Regions from separate parts of the Homo sapiens genome. Here region 1 is linked to region 2. The links are contacts of gene promoters, found by promoter capture Hi-C in blood cells and fetal thymus (Javierre and others, 2016). All regions are on one chromosome and are shown on one strand. Each heading gives the region's core, a stretch centred on a gene start or on the middle of the fragment in contact. The rest is flanking DNA. Distances are from core to core; before and after follow the strand shown. Region 1 overlaps CACNB4 (calcium voltage-gated channel auxiliary subunit beta 4). Region 2 holds the start of CACNB4 (calcium voltage-gated channel auxiliary subunit beta 4).

Region 1 (7,487 bases), core at 4,023-6,522, 53 kb after region 2:
CAGCATGTTTGGGTTCTTGTTGAAAGCCCTCTTTCAGTTTGCAGACAACTGTCTTCTTCTTGTACTTTCACATCCTCACATGGCTGAGAGCAGAGAGAGAGGAAGCAAGCCCTCTCCTGTCTCTTCTTAGAAGGACGCTAACCCCATCAGGAGGGCTTCACCCTCATGATCTGATCACCTCCTGAGCGCTCCATCTCCAAATGCCATCACACTGGAGATTAGGGCTTAACATATGTATTTTGTGGGGACATATTCAGTCCATACCAAGTATTTCTCTTTGGGGTAATTAAAATAATCTAAAACTGGTTGTGGTGATAGTTGCAGCACAACTCTGAATATACTAAACTGTTGATTATGCACTTTAAATGGGTGAATTGAATGGTATGTGAATTATATTTCAATAATACTGTTCAAAAAAAAAGTTGATAGTAAAAAGCCAAAGGGAAAGCTGGGCCGCTGGGTAGGGATGGGGGGCGGTCAAGGAAAAGGACCTCCCTGGGTAAATTTCTTCACCAGTCACCTGTCTCTCCATTAGGTCATTGTATGTGGTTTTTGAGGGTTTTTTTCTGTGGTTGGTGGTGGTGTTTTAGAAAAAGTGGATGTGGGCTGGGCCCAGCGGCTCACATCTGTAATCCCAGCACTTGGGAGGCCGAGGTGCGCAGATCACTTAAGCTCAGGGGTTCAAGACCAGCCTGGGCAACATGGTGAAACCTTGTGTCAATAAAAAAAATTAGCTGGATGTGGTGACGTGCACCTGTAGTCCCAGCTACCTGGGGACCTGAGGCAGAAGGATCACTTGAACCCGGTAGATCGAGATCGAGGCTGCAGTGAGCCAAGATTGTGCCACTGCACTCCAGCCTGGGTGACAAAGTGAGACCCTGTCTCAAAACAAACAAACAAACAAGCAGAAAAACCCCACAAGTGGATATGCCTGCATTAAAAAAAAATTTTTTTTAGAGACAGAGTCTTGCTCTGTCACACAGGCCGGAGTGCAATGGCACAATCATGGCTCACTGCAGCCTCAAGCTTCAGGGGTTAAGTGATCCTCCTACCTCAGCTTCCCAAAGAGCTGGGATTGCAGGTGTGAGCCGCTGCACTGGTCTTGCATTTTCCTTTCCTCTACCAAACCTGGCTCCATTTGCTTGTTAAAAAAGCAGTGAGCATTAGTGGAATGTTAATGGTCTGAACGACTTTAACTTTCCATCTGGCTGTTACTCTCCAGGAAGTCTCTTTTCATTTGATTGCAACTGATTAGAGGTTCTTGTTCATGTTGCATTTGATGTGGCTCATTTAGAGTAAATCTAGTGGGTGATTTTCTCTCCTCTTATGTCCAGCATTCCAAAGAGCTCTCTTTTAGAGGTTGTGTCCGCTTCATCAATAGCAGATGATCACATTTCTGACCAGCCAGTGTGCCAAAAGGATGGAAGGCAAAGTGAGGGCTGAATTGTGTGTGGGAGAACCCGGAAACTTTCTTTCCTCGTCTTTACGTGACAGGCAGCGGGCCCAGCACACTATGTCACTTTGGAAAGTCATCTGTCCAGGGCAGCTGTGATAATGGTATTTCACAAAAAACCTGGGGCTTTCACCCAACATGCCAAATGCCAGCTTGGCCAAGATACATCCACTCAGCAGACTGACCCATGCTGGGATTCTGCAGACCAGATTAAAACATTTGGGTGTCCCATCTCCATACTGTGGTCTGGTTGGTTGAGATGCAGTTGCCTTGCAGACAAGTCGACACATTTGGCCCTCAGTAGAAGTTCCTCACTGTAGGTTAATGACAGTCACCAGTCAAACCAACATGGTCTTAACTTGAACGCTCTAAAAGGAATAAAATGGTTTCTTTTATTGGTTTATCAATTCATAGCCTAAAAGAGGAAGTTAGCTTGTCGCCTGGGCACCTGTGTAAGCCCTTGCTGCTCCATGTGGAAGATTCATGCTTTAGAACACAGCCTTTCTTTCTTTCTGTAGATTCGGATATTATAGGGAGACAGAATCTAGGGCTGTGGCTGGTGACCTACTTCCTTCTTATGGTGAAGAAGGTCAGGGAGAGAGAGAAAATGAGGAAGGGAGAAGAAAAAAAGGAAAGAAGGAAAGAGAGAGAGTGAGCAAGAGAGCCACAGAAAAATAATCATTATAATGAATGAGAAGAAATAAAGGGATCTGAAAAAAGAATGAGAAGGAGAAATACGGTTGTGAAACGAGAGGGAAAGAGAATGCAGGCCGGGTGCAGTGGCTCACGCCTGTAATCCCAGCTCTTTGGGAGGCTGAGGCGGGCACATCACTTGAGGTCAGGAGTTCCAACATGGCAAAACCCCATCTCTACTGAAAATAAAAAAATTAGCCAGTACTGGTGGCATGCACCTGTAATCCCAGCTACCTGGGTGGCTGGGGCAAGAGAATTGCTTGAACCTGGGAGGTGGAGGTTGCAGTGAGCCGAGATTGTGCCACTGTACTCCAGCCTGGGCAACAGAGTGAGACTCAAAACAAAAAAAAGTTTAAAAAAAAAAAAGAGAGAATGCAAATGGGGGAGAGAATGGTATCAAGGTATGAACAGGAAAACAAGTTATGATGGGTAAAGATATAGGGAGTGCTGAAAAACATACAAGGCTACCGCTTATGAATTCTTCCTTCTTTATCCTAGAAATTGCAATTGATTGTTACCAATGGCCTGGAGCTTGCATATTTCTCTTAAAAACCTAGCTCATGCCCTCTCTTGTGCACACCATACAGTCACCTGAGAGTATTCCAGTGCTTTCTTTGGTTCTTCTGCCTCCATCTGCTCTCTTCTTTCTTTTACCCTCCCCAACAGTTGGTCCCTAAAATAGTAGTACTTTAGATCTAGAAGCAACCTCAGAGAAGGGCTAAGATTTGGCTCTTTCACTTTACAGCTGAAGAAAAAGAAATCCAGCAAAATTAAATGATTTGCCCAAGGTCCTATAACCAGTGGACTGCAAGGCTGGACTAGAGGGCAGAGTTTCCATCCCATGGGTGCAGGCCAGGTCCTGAGGGACACGCTTCTCTCTGTAGAGAGCTGTCTCTCCTGCTCACATCCTGGGTAAATCCTTATTGGCAAAGAATAAGGTGGGAGAGAAGGTGGCCAACAAAGTGCTAGCTCTGCCAACTTCTCTCATCGTCAGGAGACAAGTGTTGCAGGTACTTTTTATTCTCTCCCTTTTAGTGTGGGGATGAAGTGGAGGCCAGTTGGTTTCCTATTGGACAGATTCTCTTTCTCCCTTGGATTCTGCCTGGCCGTCTGCTGATGGCCCCTTCTGGATGTAACACATGTTATCTGGAATAGCGCAGGTGGGGATGGGTGAAGAGCATTCAGATAGAAGTTTCTGATGGTAGTGGGCAGCAGGGTGGAATCTCACTTTAACCCACGGGTTCTCAGCTGGGGTGATTTTGCCCCCCAGGGAACTTTTGGTAATGTCTAGAGGCATTTTTTGTTGTTACATCTAGGGGGTGCTAGTGAGTAGTACATCTAGTGAGTAGAGACCAGGGATGCTGTCAGACATTCTCCAATGCACAGACAGCCCACCATAACAAAGAGTCATCTGGTCCACGATGTCAGCAGTGTTACCCAACTGAACTTGAGTCCTCTCACCCAGCATGCACAAAAATCCAAACACTGATACTAGGATTTGCAGGGAGAGAAAGTTAGGCGTTTGTGGCAGGGTGCCAAACAGAGAATTGAGCAGCGAATGCTTAAGACCTGAACTCTCCAATAGCTTACAAGCAAGAGATGTTTTGTTTTGTTTTGTTTTGTTTTTGAAACAGGGTCTTGCCTTGTCACCCAGGCTGGAGTGGAGTGGCTCAATCTCAGCTCACTGCAACCTCCACTTCCCAGGTTCAAGCAATTCACCTGCCTCAGACTCCTGAGTAGCTGAGATTACAGGTGCCTGCCACCATGCCCAGCTAATTTTTGTATTTTTAGTAGAGATAGGGTTTTAATTTACTGTGTTGGTCACACTGGTCTCAAACTCCTGACCTCAAGTGATCAGACTTCCTTGGCCTCTCAAAGTGCTGGGATTACAGGCGTGAGCCACCGTGCCTGGCTACAACTGAGGGGTTTTAGTTTTAAAGGCAGGGGTTCATTTCAAGAAAGCAGAAGTTACAAGCATAATCGTAAATCAATACATGGGTATTATACACTGGTTTGGCCCAAAAAGATGGGATATCTTGAAGTGAAGGTTACAGGTCGTATGTGGATTCAAAGATTTTTTGATTTGCAATTGGTTAAGGAAGTAAGAATTCATCTGAAAACTTGGGGTCAGCAGGAAGGAATGTCAGGGTTTGGCCTGTGGGCATAACTCTCTCTAGGCCCCTCAGGAAGAAATTGACAACAAAGAACTGTCCTCAGGGTTCAGTCTTCATTTCCCCCTTATTTGAGGTCTGTGTGACAGCGGTTGACATTTTCCATCTGGTAAGGGTTTGGGTTTCTGAAAAACGACTCAGGGACATATGTCAAGATGTTATTTTTAGTTTCTATAGGGAACCAAGCATCTCGTGAGTCTAATGTACTTGGGTGACTATTGTTACGCTATTTTTACCTTCTTGCTTAGCAGGTTATTTATTCATTTCCTTAGTTGCTGGCTGCATGGCTAGCTAGGTACCCAGAATTTCCCTTGAAGGGACTCAAATTTTTCTTTATTTTCAGGCTGAGAGGAAGCTGGGGAGGCCCCTAAGAGGGATCCCTACTCCATCTCAATAATGTTGAGGTGAAGAAATTTCACTTTGCCTGAATCTTTTTTTAGCAGAAGTTCAGTGCTCATAGCCCAGGATAGTCAGAGACCCTTTTTCCTAACTGGGTGGTAGCGCCTGGAGACAGTTCAGTGCAGATACTTGAGCTTGGACAAGCTGCCTGTGATGATAACCCTGTGATGAATTTCAGGGTTAATTAATTTAAAAAGTCAAGGTTTGCTGAAAACCAGGCAGAATTCTCATCTCCTTTCCCCTGGCTACAGCTCAACAGGCAGAGCTTACCTGCTTCTCCTCTGCTTAGGGCGACATCTTAAAAGGGCAGAAATAAGGACTGTCTTAGGTGTGGACTTCCAGTGGTCAAAGTGTAGTGCTGAATAGATAGAACTCTGTGAGTAGTCACGGTGGAGAATTAAACCAGAAAGGAAATGAGGGTGAGATGGAAGGAGGAGAGACAGATTTTATAAAAGGCAAAATAGATTCTCCTGTTTGCAGCAGTCAAGTTGAAACCAGCCATAGCTGTAGGCAAGAAATTATAGAGAGATTATCATCTTAGTGATTGTTCTGTAAAATTGCTCTAGGCCAAAGGTGCTGCTTTCACATTTTTGTAATTTAACCTCTTTTTACCTTCCTGAGCCACAGTGTGCATTTGTGTTTCTAATAAGCTGTCTTTTTCCAGGAAGGAATTTTGGTGATGTTTCTGCCTGTGCTCACATATAGAAAAGGGGTGCTACGTGTTCTGGGCCATTCTAGCCTCCCCTGAATGGACAATCCATATGATATAAAAATATACTGTTATATAATCAGAGTTTCCAGGTAAAATAATTGCCACTTCCTTCTTAATAACTCATTTTTGTTCTTGTTTATCTAAAAAGCTAACTAATGTTGATTTTATTTCTATATGATCAATTTATTTTTCTCTTATTATAATAGAGGTTGTTATTAAAGAAAAAGTTTTCCATCCTTCCATTGATTCTCAGTTACTCTAAGGACCAAGACTTGTTGATTTCCAATCTGCCTACATTCTAGCTCATTTATCAGAACTTTTCATCCCCTCTATTTCAAGCTATGTTCTAAAAAAATCTTTCCAACTGTTCATTACTTGTGTTTTTTTCCTTTTCATTGAATCTGCAAATGTTTAATGAATCCCTGCTAGCTGCGAGTCACTGTATTTAGAGCTGCGGGATGCACAGCTATGCCTAAGGTACCGTCTGAACTCTCTTGGAACTGTAGGACTGGGAATTCCAGTCTGTGCTCTTGGAGGTTGCGTGAGGGAGAGGGAGAAGAGGCTACTTATAAGACTTTGAGGGTGTACTTTGATCCACCTTTTCATTCCTTGTCTTTTTTTTTTTAAAATGTGGTAAAATATCCATAACATTTACCATTTTCACCATTTTTAAGTATACATTCAATGGCACTAAGTACATTAGATGCAGAATTTTTGCTCCTCCTCCCAGCTCCTGGTGACCACTCTTCTACTTTCTGTCTCCATAAATTTGACTACTGTAGGTAGCTCATATAAATGGAATCACACAATATTTGTCCTTTTGTGACTGCTTATTTCACGTAGCATGATATCCTCAAGGTTCATCCATGTCATAGCATGAGACAGGATTTCCTTCCTTTTTAAGGCTAGATAATATTCTGTTGTATGTATATACCACATTGTCTTTAGCTACTCCTCTGTTGATGGACACTTGGACTGTTTCTACCTTTTGGCTACTGTGACTAACGCTGCTGTAAACACTGGTATATTCCCAGTCCTTATCTTTAAAAGCATATCTGCATGTGAAAGCACTGAAAAAAAATTGGCCAATGATGCCTCTCCATATCCATACATATGTACATGTATTTATGTAGTTGTATGTGCTAGGCATAGTTATGTGGTGGCAATCATTTTTTTTCTGGCTTGAAATTGTAAGCCAGACCAATATCATCTCATGCCCTTGCTTCACATCCTCCTTTCTCTCCACTAAATCTCTCTCCTCCGCCCCACCAACCCCCCACCGTCTCTTCCCCATCTTCTCTTTCCCCTGCTTCAATTCAGTTTAGCACACTTTTATTATTGTTAACTTTTTGGGTGCAAAGTGCTCTGGAAATTTTGAAGAATGAAACTGGCCTTGGGTTTTTCATGGTCTCTTATTGGAGACGAGACCCACGGTAGCAGTTGAGTGAGTCAGGCTGTGGACCTGCCATGGTGGCCAGGCTCATGAAAGGATGGCAAAGATGAGGGAAAACTCATTCCAGCCAAAGAAAATGACCCAAACAAAGGGTGTGGGATGGAAAATATTGGACATATTTCATTTTAAGTAGTTTTTATTTGTATGTGGCCTTTAAATGTTTTTAATTATTAGGATGTGCTTGATAAATTCCCTACCTGGGAGTAATAGTGATTTCTCCACCCTGTGTTGTAGATTTTATATAGAAAATTTCCCTTTAATAATTTGCTTTAAGGCCGGGTGCGGTGGCTCACGCCTGTAATCCCAGCACTTTGGGAGGCTGAGGCAGGCGGATCACAAGGTCAGGAGTTCCAGACCAGCCTGACCAACATGGTGAAACCCCATCTCTACTAAAATACAAAAATCAGCCATGCATGGTGATGCGCACCTGTAATCCCAGCTACTCAGGAGACTGAGGCAGGAGAATTGCTTGAACCTGGGAGGCGGAGCTTGCAGTGAGCCAAGATTGCTCCACTGCACTCCAACCTGGGCGACAGAGCAAGACTCCGTCTCAGAAAAATAAAATAAAAATAAAAATAAATAAAATCTGTTTTAAAAGAAGTGCAT
Region 2 (7,237 bases), core at 1,396-3,895:
GACTGGTACTAGTCTGTGGCCTGGGGGTTGGGGATCCTTGATGTAAGGTCAGGGTTCAACATCATTTTTTCCACTCTGGTGTCAGAGGTAGGGACAATGATGCACCTCTCTCTGAGTGACATCACCATGTTAGATGCTGAATGTTTCTGGCAGAAGCACTCAAAGCAGTCCCACGTTTCCTGACTTCTTTCTCGATGAGCCAGAAGCAAAGGTGATCAAGGCCCAAGTACACTCAGTGCTGCTGTGGCCAAGGTACAGCCTCCAGGTACAACTGGGCAGAAGAAGGGAGCCCCCACCTCTGCCATACTTGCTTAGAACTTAGTCTCAACAACAGGTAGCTGCGGGGAGGATGACAAATGCTGATGTTTTGTCCCTCCTAGGAAGCTGACCCTCCAACTGGGAGCTGAAGGGTGAGGGAGCCCTGTGTTCTTGGCTGCACCAGTATAGCGTGGAGCCCTCTCTGAGTTGGAAGCATGAAAAGAGTGAGTAGGTCTTGGTTCAAATACCTCAAGCTCACTTTTCTTACTGGGTTTCAGTAGGTTTTCTTGAATAAATGTTCCTTCATTTGTTGTGCACCTTTAGGACCATTTTTAGAAATTTAAATGGTTGCTTATATATAAAACATATAATTTTCACCAGTTTTGCTTTGAGCTGGGTGTACAGGGCTTCTCATGTTGTTATGCCTCTGTGGGTTCTGTTTCAATAACTTAAAGTCAGTGAGAATGTGGACAGTGGAAAACCACACAATTCAAAGTCCAGTGCTCACATAGTAATTTAATATGCACACACGTATCAACTATGAAAATGGCTCAGAACTAAATACGGATTGGGTTGACAGTAACTAAAGTAGGGAGTCCTGCATGGTTAGACCTCCATTCCCCATAAATTCATGGAGTATCTACTATATGGAAGGTATAGGAATAGAAGATAAACCGCTAAAAATTCTGAAAATTAGGAGATTTTCACAAAAACAGAACTAACAAACTAATAAGCTAAGGCAGCCTATTCTAAGTGCCCAGAGAATACATGCTCCAGTTTTTCAGAAGCACAAGAATTATGTGGGACTGGAGTAGTCAGATAGGATTTCTGTGGAGGAAGCGTGAGCTGAGTCCCATTTAGAAGAAAGGTAGGATTCAGCCGGGTGTGTAGGTTGTTGGGAGGGCATATTCCAAGGAGGCATTCCAAAGCAGAAGAGCTCAAATGTGATTGTATTTGGAATACTTGGGTATTGATGACTAGACCTGCCTGCTTGCTGGAAGGTTTGTATAGAGAGATCAAGATGGAGAAATGAGATGGAGAGTGATCAGAAATGCAGGAGAGGCTGAGTTGTTGGACCATGGAGTTTGGACTTTATCTTAGAGAAGAGTGACTTGGGCAAGATATTTTAGGAAAATGGTTTTGCCTGTAGTGTGTAGATGGAATGAAATCTCTGCGTGTGTATGTGTGCATGTGCATACGTGCACATGCACCAGGAAGCCTGGAGGCAAGGACATTAGTTATAAGATTGTTACAGAGGTTTGGATTAAGTGAAGGGATTAGGAATGGAAAGGAAGTGTCTGGTGGATGGTAAGATATAACCAGGACCTCAATAAAGCCAAGCAATTATTAAAACAAGCATGGTAGTTGTGTCCATAAACATAAAGTCCTAGAATGCAAGCTGATTTAGCGATTTGAGATAGTAAGTATATTTTAATTTAAACGGAGTCTCTTTATTTTTGAATTTGCATATACTTTTCTTCCCTCTTCTTATTCCTCTGTCAATACCTCGCACTTATTCTTCCTTTCCGCAATCCCTCTCTTTTAATTTGATCACAAATTAATCTCTTGTATGTATTTACAGGAGGAAACCAATGGCAAACGTTGTGTATGGTTGCAAGGATGAGTTTCTCCCCCTTGAAAATATCCATTCGCATAGAAATGGGAGGCACAGTGACCAACTCTTGCTTCTTAGCAGGTCTAACATGACCTTCAAAACTCCGTAGGACATACTGGTCTTTGGCGGGGCAGCATCTCCCGTCAGACTCAGGCTGGCTGGGTTTCTCACAGCTGCCTGGATGTGTGTGACTCGCAGCTCTAAGGACAGAATTGCCAAAGCAATACAAAAACACGGACGAAAAGCAAGCCACAAAACCCCATGCCTTACACATTAGGCTGATGAGTGAAGTCGCGGAAGGTGGCTCTGCTCTTGCCCTTTTAAAATTCCAGTGCAGCAAACACACACACACACACCCGCTCGGTTCTTCCCATTCCCGCCACACTGCACCAGCTTCCGTCCCCAAGTCCTGATTCATGAACCGTGCCACCTTTGTCTCATTTTAAACTGTGCAGACTATTTTAATCTTGCCACCCCCATCCCAGATTTCCCCCTCCCTTCATCCTCTGGAAGCTCTGATGTAAAGCGCTTGCTAGGTGGGAGAGCGCTTCTCCCAATCCGCTCGGGTAGGCGAGTTTCCGAGAAGCCCCCTCCCCGGGACCCCGCCGCGAGCGCGGGGGAAGCGCCTCGGTCCCTTTAAGGTGCCGCGCTCTCCGAAGTGCGGGCAGGGAGCCTGGGCGCCGGCGCGGGTCCTGGAGCCGGGTGGGGAAGTCCTGCGCCCTCCCCCTCCGTCCGCAGCCCAGCCTCGGGGGCCAGCCCCCTCCGCCCACCGCACACGGGCTGGCCATGCGGCGGCTCTGAACGATGTCCTCCTCCTCCTACGCCAAGAACGGGACCGCGGACGGGCCGCACTCCCCCACCTCGCAGGTACCGCCCCCTCCTCCCCCTTCTCCTCTTCCTCCTCTTCCTTCCTCACACCTCCTCCGCCGCCCTAGCGCGCCCCGCCTTCGTGCCGGGCGTGCGGGGCCCCAGTCCCGGGAGTCGGCGGCCCCGCTCCCCCCACCCCTCCTCCACGTCCCTTTCTCCTCCCGCTCCTCCTCTTTCTCCTCCTTCTCTTCCTCCTCCTCCTCACCCTCCTTCGGGTCTCTGCGCTCCCGCTCCGGAGCCCGCAGCCTCCCCCAGCGGATGCCGGGGACTCGGACCCCGCACCCTGAGAGTCTTTGTTAATGGATGTGGTGGGTGCTTGCGGGCTGCTCTTCTCGAGCATCTTTTCAGCAGTCGAGGCTTGCAGTGGGTGGGTGGGGGTGGGGGCTGTATTTGGGAGTCGCGGAGGAGACTTGGGTGCGGGCTCTAGGGGACCCCAGGGAGCGGGTCCGGAGGCGGACTCCAGCCGGGGGTGGTCGCCCCGCTCTGCGCTGCGGTCCTCACCGGCTTCTCTCTGGCCCCCGTGTGTCGAGTCCAGGTGGCCCGAGGCACCACAACCCGGAGGAGCAGGTTGAAAAGATCCGATGGCAGCACCACTTCGACCAGCTTCATCCTCAGACAGGTATGAGAAGGAGGCGGGAGACCAGGATGGGGAGGAGGCCGAGCGCGCGGCGCGGGGGTCCTGGAGCCGGCCGTGGCCCACACGTGCGGGAGCTGCGGGTCAAGCCCGCGCGCGTCTCTTCCCGGCCTCGGCCGGTGCTCGGGCTCAGTCCCTCTCCCTCTAGCCTGGGCTCTTGACGTCTTCGCGTCCCGGCGTCTCCGCACCGCCCCGGGAAGTTAGTTTGTGCATGTGTGTGGACAGTTCGGTGGGGACCTGGCTTAAGTCAGGGACGTTGAATTTAAGAGCTGGAAATATGTCTGGTTGTATCTTTGGTGCGTGGAGAAATGTCTTTAATTCGTATAACTCGACCTAGAGTAACCAGACCCCTCGGGGCCGGGGACCTGGTTTGATTCGAGTTGAGATTTAGTGGTTTCTTCTGTTTTGTCCTAATTTGAATACTCTTATCTGTCTGGATCTTGGGAGAGATCGTCAAGCTCCGGTCAAAAGAAAGACACTGAGCAGAAAGTTTACTCTCACTTTAGGACCGCTTCTTGGATTCGCTTAGTTAGGGAAAGACAGCTGTATCTGGTTAAATAGGAATTAACGAAGGCCAGCACTCAGCTCCGGGTCTGGGTGCGCCTTCACTTCGTGTTTGTTTTCTTAGTGCTTGCTTTCTCCTGCGTGGTTCTAGTGCGAATTGTCTGTGCTCGGGATCTCCGGATCGCTGGTAATGCTCAATGCTTAGGTGCCTTTCACCTTGGCACAGGAAATTGGTCCTCAGTTTTCCAACTGTCCATGTGCTGTTAATGAAACCACCCCTGGCTGCTGGGTGCTAGAGAGATCATGCAATGAGTCACCTTGATCTTTCTTTGGAACAGAAATTGTCGGGGTGTGTCCTAGGTTTCGGGTGACCTAGGAAGACATTGGTCATCGCACCAAGAGGCTTTTATCCCAGGTCTTCCTGTGGGCTGCTGGAGTGACCTTGAGAAGTTCTTTTCCCTCTAGGTCACTCAGTATTGTGTAATGTGTTTTCTAACCTATGATGGCAGCTCTGGTGTTTCTTTAGTGATTATCATCAATTTAAACATATCAACGAGGAATTGATATCAAAATTGAACTCAGACCTCTCCTAAAAGGGTCTATAAAGCATATTTAGATGATATTTATTATGCAGAATTTCACTTTCTGCAGAAGCGGAAATTTTGACTACCATTTAATTCAGCGAGCACTAAGCATGTACATTATGGAAATAAATGCATTTTGGATTCCGAATTCATTCTAAAAGTGCATTCTATCCCCTTTGCAGTATTTAGATTATGTATTTGATAAGGCAAACATATTGTTTATCTTAAAAACATTTTTCTGTTATGCAACTGTTTGAGGTCTTGCTGGTGTTTATTTTGTAGGTGCCTATTTTTAGTGGTGTTTCATTGTTGCAAATTCTTGGAAATACTAATTACACAGCAGTTCTTTCCATAAGCTGTTTGACTAAAACTTTTGAGTTCATCTACATAACTGCACTAATGCTTTATTCTTCCTTCCAAGCACAAACAAAATAATATTCTAATATTCTTACTCTTTTCTCAATTTATGCCCGTAACTGATTGAGATGATGTATATATAAGTTCTTGTAAAGCGTGCTGCTATGTGCTGGCTTAAGAAATGTTAAAAGTATTGCATGCTAAATAATTTTGGGAATAATTTAAAGCAAAGTAGATTTTTTTAAATAAATATATTTCATCTATGAAATGGGAATTCATTGGTTTGATTAAATGGTCTAATTTAAATTCAGGAGTTAATTGTAATTGTATTATATACACAATCTTATTTTTCGGCACAAAAATAGTACTTAATTTTTTTCTTTTTTCAGACGGAGTCTTGCTCTGTCGCCCAGGCTGGGGTGCAGTGACGCAGTCTCTGCTTACTGCAAGCTCTGCCTCCTGGGTTCACGCCATTCTCCTGCCTCAGCCTCCCGAGTAGCTGAGACTACAGGCACCCGCCATCACGCCTGGCTAACTTTTTTGTATTTTTAGTGGAGACAGGGTTTCACCGTGTTAGCCAGGATGGTCTTTATCTCCTGACCTCGTGATCTGCCCACCTCATCCTCCCAAAGTGCTGGGATTACAGGCGTGAGCCACCATGCCCGGGCTACTTAATTTTTATGAGCACTTTACAACTCACTGAGTATACTACACATGATCTCATTCAAATGACATCATACAGACTTCTGTATTGGCTACAATAAAAATAACTGAGGGATTTACATTTCTTTGATGAGATAAGGAAAATGATTACAAATGCAGTTTAACAATAACTTTCGGATAAAATTGAAATCACCCCAATGCCAAAAAATATTTTTTATGAAAGCATAACAGCTGCTTACGTTAACAGAGCCTTGGGCTGGTCACAGTGGCTCACGCCTGTAATCCCAGCACTTTGGGAGGCTGAGGTGGGCGGATCACTTGAGGTCAGGAGTTTCAAACCAGCCTGGTAGCATGGTGAAACCCCGACTGTACTAAAAATACAAAGAAATTTGCCAAGCGTGGTGGTGTGTGCTTGTAATCCCAGCTACTCGGGAGGCTGAGGCAGGAGAATTTTTTGAACCTAGGCGGTGGAGGTTGCAGTGAGCCAGTATTGCTCCACAGCATTCCAGCCGGGCGACAGAGCAGGACTCCATCAAACAAACAAACAAACAAAAACAGAGTCTCATTATTTGTAGAATGACCAGTGATTTATTGATATTTGAATTCTTGATACATTGGAGTGATGAAATTTCTTGGTGCTGTTTCACAGTCTTTGTGATGCCTTTGAAGAAGATAGTGGAATACCAAAAAATATATATATTGCTAGTTTCTTTATCATATTATTTACAAAAATATGGAGAAAAGCTTTCATTAAAAAAAAAATCGATGTGTTACATTGGATGGGGAAGACTGGGCTGTTGGTGAAGCAGAGAAGGCAGTTGGCAACTCACCCAATAAGACAATATTTGTTCTTTGAGCTTGTTAAAAAGTTTCAGTGTTTCTGAGACTATATATGCACATATGTGTGCATGCACACACATGAACATTTGAATTGGCTGGAAAACAAGCAGACTGAGAAAGAGAGCCTGCTTCCACTCTGAGGACTGCTCATGAAGCCCCTCAGGAATCTTTGACCTTGTTTCTGGTCTACAAGATTTCTGGCTTCCACCATTTAGGAGGGATGGAGGTTTTGGAATGAATCCAGGGAGCAAATAAATGGCTTCTTTGAGGAAAGGTGAGAAGATGAAGTACTTTGCCGCTGAAAGGAAAGAAAGCTAGGAGTGACCCAGAAATGATCTTCAAAGTACACACAAAGGCTTTCTTTGGAAATGTGATGAAGTGTTCTCACTCTTCATTGGGGATGAAACTCAAGAACTGGCCCAAATTAGAAAGGAATGATGTTTTACAGCAAGACCTTCCTAAGAGTGTTGCCATCATTGGAGTGGCTTTCCAAATGAGGCCATAGAATTTTCTTTCAGGAGAGCCCTTCTTACAGGCTATTTATGAATGGATTATCTAGTCATATTTTAAAGTTTTAGGAAACACTTAAGTATTTGCTATGTGCCTAGCACTATGTTAGATATTGTAGGGGAGGAATGAAAAGATGGATGAGACACAGCCCCTGTACTCAAAGATTTTTATAATCTAGCAATGGAGACAGAGATGTCTACAAACAGTACGGTGACATGTAACAAGGAACGAGAGGGCGGGCTCAATGACCATGTACCCCGAGTATCTATTATATATCCATAAGTATATCTACCCATGGGTGTCACTACACATACAGTTTATACGGCTGAGTACTCCAAGTTAGTCCTCTTCCCACTGGGGTTTGAAGAGAAAATCTGATCAGAGTGGGAATAGTTTGTTGACTTT

Evidence for each region. The method cuts DNA at HindIII sites, captures the fragments that hold promoters and counts their contacts. A CHiCAGO score of 5 or more calls a contact.
Region 1: a contact is called between a fragment that was not itself captured here and the fragment with the promoter of CACNB4 in region 2, in 1 of 17 cell types (M2 macrophages). The highest score is 6.6, in M2 macrophages.

Annotation. Positions count from the first base shown.
Region 1 is chr2:152,044,185-152,051,671 of GRCh38, reverse strand. All of the region lies in intron 2 of CACNB4 (calcium voltage-gated channel auxiliary subunit beta 4), which reads left to right. Among named protein-coding and RNA genes, the nearest start is that of CACNB4, 51 kb to the left of the region's middle. RefSeq lists enhancers at 1-68, 189-268, 929-1,550. The HindIII fragment of the contact is 8,488 bases long and covers 1,029-7,487 here.
Region 2 is chr2:152,094,452-152,101,688 of GRCh38, reverse strand. It overlaps CACNB4 (calcium voltage-gated channel auxiliary subunit beta 4), which reads left to right and starts at 2,645. Exons shown (of 14, transcript NM_000726.5): 1 at 2,645-2,740; 2 at 3,276-3,359. The coding sequence starts at 2,678. RefSeq lists a silencer at 2,447-2,736. The HindIII fragment of the contact is 7,735 bases long and covers 1-6,228 here.